Regions from separate parts of the Homo sapiens genome. Here region 1 is linked to region 2. The links are contacts of gene promoters, found by promoter capture Hi-C in blood cells and fetal thymus (Javierre and others, 2016). All regions are on one chromosome and are shown on one strand. The core of a region is centred on a gene start or on the middle of the fragment in contact, and the rest is flanking DNA. Distances in the headings are between cores, read along the strand shown.

Region 1 (3,238 bases), core at 599-3,098, 1.2 Mb after region 2:
ACTGGGAACTTGTCATTTGATGGAAATAAAAAATGAAAGAAAAATGTTTGGTCCTCAACCTTTTAAATCCAGACACTTGATGATTGTTACCACTTTACGTCAGATCGACCTTACTTTCATGGAAAATTGTCATTTTTTGGCCACTCAGCATCCAAACGAACTTTCTCTTTCTGAGATATTTACTCCCATTACCTCCCAACAGACTTGGCCAATAAGATGTTCCTGCCTAAGACTTTGAATCTGGAATGGGGAACACAGAGAACATGAGCAACGAAGAATTATTCACAGCACAGCACAGCAGTGCTGACAGCATCGACAGTCCTGTGGTGCCAGCAAGAATCCAAAAGAAGTGTCCTACATAAATTCCCTTAATCACTGACCATTTAATGAGGCTGATTCAGCCTCATACAAATTTTGTATGCTTCTTCATACAATTTTTAATTGTGCTGTAAAAGTTAACCAGAGACAATTTCTGTTGCTTGCACACAGTAAGTTGACTAAGCAAAAAAATTCAGGAGAGATTATTTTATAGAAGTCAATGCAAATGCATTAATTTACAAGAAGTGAAACTGCAAGTTCACTTTGCTGCCTTATGGCCAGCATATTCTCTTACAAGGGAAGTCTATATGGCAATCTGTGTTATGATCAGAAGATTTGGGAAAGATGGAATCTGTGAGAGAGTTTTATGACACACGGTTACAACTGATCACAGGATCAAACACTAAAACTCCAATATATATATTTATTCTTATTAGCAAAGCTTTTATGCTATGGAGGAAAAAGAAAAAGAAATAAGAAATTCTGAGTTTCTCTAAACTTCCAGTATGTGGATGAGTTAAAAACTATGTCATCTTGGATTCCCCATTTTAAATATTTCATAATAATGCATTATAATTGGTACATGTTAATATCAATTTTTTCTTTTGCTGTTTTTGAAGTGGTGTGAATCACCTGTAACAAGGTTTCCTTATCATCCATTTAATTATTGTCCTATAATATACTTTTCAATACAGCAACTACTTTTTATGTTTTGGGATTACTTTTACTATTGTTAGATAAAACCTATGGTTGATTGTGTGCCTCTAGAAGAACTTCAAAAGTACAATATAAATCTTGCTAACAATAACTCATTATGGTCAGTGGTTTTTCAGGATAGTTATTTATCTCAACTACTCATGATGTGAATGTCTTTTAAAATTTGAATAATTGCCCTCTCTGTCAGATACAATATTATTATATTTTTACTGATTACATTAAGAATTAGGCAAGATTAAAATTTTCTTTTTGCACCATCATTACTTCTTAAGAACTTAACTGTTGTTGAACAAATAGTACGTGTGTCAGTTATTAAATGTAGTCTAAATTCATGAAATAAGAATGTACATATAGCATAGTGGGAAAAACACAGGTTTTAGAATCATATACCATAGAGTTATGTTTCAGTAGTGCTACTAATGTATTCTTTGACCCTACGTCAGTCAGCAAACACAACTGAAATCAAGTGGTAACTCTATGTTCCTCCTTTGTGTAATAAGTATTTTTACATGTTTGAGATCAAATGATATAGTGTGTTAAAATTATTTATAAGCTAAAATATTTTATAAATAATAGCTGTACTTATTAAAAATTAGAGATTAATAAGTTGTTACATAAAACACACGTAAGCGATTCAATGTTAGGAAAATATATTTAGCTTTCTCAAAATTTTATTTCATAAAGCAAAGTTTCCTACATTAACTATCCAGCTATCTGTTGTGTTTTTCATCATCATCACAAATGGATTCAGACTGGCTACCATATAAAAACACTCATAAATTCTAGGAATGCCAGAAGTTCCTGTCCTCAACTATCTAATTGTATTCTTTAGATAACTTCACATATTATGAAGATAAATAACTAGCGATACAGCAGAACCCATGGTAAATAGCACTGAGTCATGCAGTTAATGAGCATAATGTGGACAGAAGAGAAAATCACTGTTGCTTCTGTCCCTTGGAGCAGGTGGACTTCAGCTGAAACTTGAGGGAATACTGTCCATTCTGTTTAGGAAGCATTGCTAGGAAGAGTGTATTGCCAGCTGCTTGTGTTTTTAAAGTCACTGCATGCATGTGTGGTAATTTGTTATGGCGACATTAGGAAACTCATACAAATTTTGATGTCTGAGAGTTATATACTGCTGTAACAAATATCTATAAAATGTCAAAGTGGCTTTGGAATTCGGCAGTGAGTGAGGCTAAGAGAATGTTGAAGGTCATCCGAGAAAAACTTACATTGTTTTGAACACATTGTTAGTAGAAATGTGGTTGTTAATGATTCTGCTAGAAAGGACTTAGAAGAAAGTGAAGAGAAGAGCATGGTAGAGAAGGCATAGACTGCGTTAGAGCATACATGAATCAGCATGAACAGACTTAGTAAAAATAGGGACATAAAAAGTACTATTGGTGAAGGCTTAGAAGGAAATAAAAAACACATTAAAAATTTGAAGAAAGAATTTCCATATTATATAGCGGTAGAAACTTAGCAAAGTTGTCCTACGTTCAGGTGAAAAATAGAACTTGTAAATGATGAAATTGAATACGTAAGTAAGGATATTTCCAAGCAAAGGGTTGAAGAAGCCGCCTGGCTTCTTGTTTCTTCTCATAGCAAAATGCAATGAGAAAGAGATAATTTGAGAAAAGAACCGTTTAAACAAAAAGAAACCAAGACATAATGATTTTGGAAATTCTCAGTTTATTCAGACTGCAAAAGATATTAAAATAAAGAAACTCAGTAACAGGGATAGATAATCTAAAGAAAAAGCCTAGGACACGGCTGTAGTAACCTTCTGTTTTTATACCTCAGCAATTTGCTAATGCCTCAAAAAGATCAAAAGTACTCAAATATAAAGGGCTCTTTGAAGAGATTAGATTTCCTCAATCAAACCAAAGAGCATCGAGGAAGCTTAAGGTTACTGTCCCTCACATATCTCAGCAGAAGGCAAAAATAGAAGACTGATTATCTAAGAAAGATCTCTGAAAGAGTCTCATATTATGGAGTGAACCCCTGTGGCATACATGGGAGACCCACTTGGTTCTTGAGAATTTTATATCAGGAGAAACACTGTCAGTCTGTATTGAAAGGAACAGAGAAAATACGAAATTAAAGAAGACTATTAAACCTCCAAAATTCTGGCAGGAAAGAAGCTTACACAGCTACTCAGTTGCAAAGATCTGCCACTTTTCATATACATGAAAGGACT
Region 2 (3,236 bases), core at 316-2,815:
TAATGCTGCAGGCCCCGGCCATACAACCGCGCCATGGACGCGTCAGCCACCAGAAGCAGCTCCACCTGGCGGGCCCGGGAGATGGAGCGGCGCCGCCGCCGCCACCACGTCTGCGGTCCTGAGCCCCCAGCGGGCGAGAGAGCGGACTGGTCCAAGAGCTGCGAGGCCAGTGCTGCGCGTCCGCTCGGGTTGCTGTGCGCCGGAGCATGCTCGTGGGCCTCCGGTGTGGACGCGGGGGTTTCGCAGCTGGCGCGCGGCGGCAGGGCCTCGAAGCTGAAGCCCTCGCGGGTGTAGACGTGCAGGATCCGTGCGGACCCATCCCCGTACACGCGCCCCTTTTCTTCCTCCGCCCAGGGTCCGCGCAGCAGTGGCTTTAGGGTGTAGCGCGCGTGCTTGACCGCGAAGAAGCCGTCGAGACCCCCACAGAGGTCAAAGACAGCCAGAGAGCGGGGACTACCGTCCACTGTGCCCCGATAGAAGCAGTGGCTCCGGTGGCGCCAGGGCGCACTCGTCCCGCCTCCTGCGGGCACGAAGCCAGCAATGCCCACCGAACCATCTCGCTCCAGGTCCAAGAGGAACCTCCGGCCGCCCGCGTAGACGAGGTAGCCCACCTTGCCGCCGCCGGAGTAGAGTTGGTCGATGTTCTGCACCAGCCCCTTGCTCCTGCGCCGCTGCGCCAGGGGGTGCGGGTGGCCGGGAGGCTCGGCTCGCTCCTGCACCTCCTCCCCCTGCCGCCGGCGGGGCTGGGCGGCTGCTGCAGCAGTCGGAGGCTGCCCGGCTTTATCCTGGGCAGGTGTCGCGGCGGGGCCGACCGCGGCCAGGGGCAGGCGGAACGCGCACAGCAGCAGGGACGCCCACCCGAGCAGCATAGTGCGCTGCCCGCGGGGAGGGGCTGCGCGACTGGGACTTTATGGGTATTTGTTATTTGCTATGAAGTTAACGGGGCGGGGGATGGGGACACACACACACTTGCTTGCAGGATTGAGTCAAGTGTCGGAGGGAGGGGGGCCCGGCAGCAGCGCCAGCCTGTCCGGGCTGCGGTGCCAGCGTGCGAACTTTTCTTTGTTGCTTGGGAAAATGTTTGGATTCGTGCTCCAGAAAGAGGTGGGGTGGGGGGGGGGGGAAAGAAAAGATTAAAAAAAAAAAGTCGGATAGTGGAGATTCAGCAAATACGGGAAAAGGAAAAAAACAAAAACCAAAAAACCACCAAATGCAGGCACGATCGCTGTTTCAAGAAAAGTAAGGAAAGGTACCGCGCACCGGGCTGGCAACTGGTGCGCGCAGCCTCCCGCCCCCGCGCTGCGCTGGACAAGCCGGCTGTGGAGGTTCCAAGCTCCGGGGCCCACTTCCTTTCTTATTTTGTGGGTTTCCTTGGCTCTGCTGGGACCAGGAGGAAGGGAAGAAAGAGAGGGGAAAAAGCCGTAAAAATTAAAACAAAAATGCAGGGGGGCAGCCTGAGGCGAGCTGGTGAAGCGGCGTGTCTGTGTCCCTTCGGCTGCGGTCTCCTCCTGCCCGCCGTCATCCCCAGTCGGCAGCTGCGAGCGCCGAGAGCAGCGCGAGCGCTGTGAAGATGCGAGGAGGTGGAACAATGAATTTATAGCGGCATGCCATCCTGCAATGGCAATTTCAACAGTTCGTCACTGCACGCTGCCTCTTAAAGGGAGAGCTTCCCCCACCACTCCCACCCTTCCCAGTCCGCGCCTAATCAGATGGGGGAGGGCAAAAGAGGAGGGTGATCGAGGAAAGGGAGACGAAGTAGGAGGAAGGGACTGGGACCCGGCGAGGTGGTAGGAGGGGAGAGGGGAAAATAAAAAGTAATGGGGCAAGAAAAACAGATTTCCTTGGCCACTTTTAAAGCCACAGCGGCTCCGGGTCTGTCTGATATTTCACAACCAATTGGGGTTGGCTAACCTTGGCTTACCTCATCTCCTGAACGGGTGTTTTGGTTAAAGTTATTGAGACGTTTCAAGTCTCTCCCTGCCTCCTTCTTGCCTGCTTTTCTCGCCCTCGGTGGGAAGTTCCTGCCGCAAGTTTTTCCCCTTTGCACACCCGTGCGCTCTGGCCTCGCAGACCGTGCAACTCCATCCACCAGCCAGAGCTTTTCAGCTTCCCGTGCGTCCCCTAACCACCGCGTTCCCTTCGCTTCCTCCCCTCCGTCCCGGCACCCGGTTTCCTCCCTCCCCATTCTCCAGCCTCTTGATGCTTTGACGCTCGCCGGATTCGGGCTCCGGGTGACTAACTTCTCCCGGCCACCAGCAGAGCGGCTGGACAGCCAGAGAGCCCAGGGCGCTTCCTGGCGCGCTGCGGTACCCCGGGGCGAGAACGCCCGCCGCTTGGGAACTCCGCAGCTTTGTGTGCGAACGGCGGGCTCCCAGCTTTCTCCAGCACGCCTTTCGTCAGGGTCCACAATCTGTCCCTTACTCCCAGCCCACTGGAACTTCCTTTGCTCTAAAAAGGCAGAGCGAGAAAGAGTTAACTCTTAGAGGGAATTCCGCTCATTTTTTTTCCCTGAAAGATTTTAAAATTTTGCGCTCATACTTTTATTTTTTGCTTAAATGATACTTTAATAATAAATTCCTATATCTGTTTTTGTCTCTTCTAAAGCAACCACTTATCGCCATAGGCCTTGACCTACCTTCATTCTCAGAAATTCCTTTTAGAAGAAAAAGAATACTTTTGGCGGAAGGAAGATTGGTGCTTATTAGTACGCGGGTGACATTATCACTGCTACTCGTTTCCTCTGACCTCTTTGTTTCCTCTAATTATCATTCTAAGAAGGGAGAAGGAAAACCCGACGACTTATGGTTAGAAGGTCTACCTTCTACTGTAGGGGTAAGAGCTCCCTCCATGCCCAAATTATTCTTCAGGCTAATTAACTAATGCACCAGTGAAAAATGAATGTGGTGTAATTTGTACATTTCCATCTTTTTCTACGTTTAACTTTGGCTACGCTGGGGATAGCAGGGCGGGTGCCTTAATGGGGCCCCAAGCTGATCGCTTTCTCTGGGAGGGAACCATGAGGGTCCAGAGCTTGATGGAGGTTCTTAGAGTGGCAATAATCCTCTGGAAGGAATTTCAGAATTGCCCGGCAACAATACCCATTGCCGTGTGCCTGGGAACACCCTCTGGAGTCTTGTGAGGGGCAGATGTATCATCTTGTTTTAACTTATAAATAAAGAAATCACTGGGGCCTTAGGGACACCCAACAGCCCCTGATAGATTCTGAAATACATCAG

The links. Contacts are between HindIII fragments. The CHiCAGO score rates a contact against its expected background, and 5 or more counts as called.
Region 1: a fragment that was not itself captured here is called in contact with the fragment with the promoter of ADAMTS5 in region 2 in 3 of 17 cell types (M2 macrophages, M0 macrophages and M1 macrophages); the score reaches 8.1 in M2 macrophages.

Annotation. Positions count from the first base shown.
Region 1 is chr21:28,136,488-28,139,725 of GRCh38, forward strand. It overlaps LINC01697 (long intergenic non-protein coding RNA 1697), which reads left to right. Exons shown (of 5, transcript NR_126010.1): 5 at 203-1,122. All of the region lies in intron 5 of LINC01695 (long intergenic non-protein coding RNA 1695), which reads right to left. Among named protein-coding and RNA genes, the nearest start is that of LINC01697, 90 kb to the left of the region's middle. The HindIII fragment of the contact is 2,180 bases long and covers 759-2,938 here.
Region 2 is chr21:26,965,523-26,968,758 of GRCh38, forward strand. ADAMTS5 (ADAM metallopeptidase with thrombospondin type 1 motif 5) reads right to left here and starts at 1,566. Exons shown (of 8, transcript NM_007038.5): 1 at 1-1,566. The coding sequence starts at 869. It overlaps LOC124905050, which reads right to left. Exons shown (of 3, transcript XM_047441063.1): 2 at 1,922-2,448; 3 at 1,134-1,562. The coding sequence ends at 1,134. The HindIII fragment of the contact is 6,499 bases long and covers 1-3,236 here.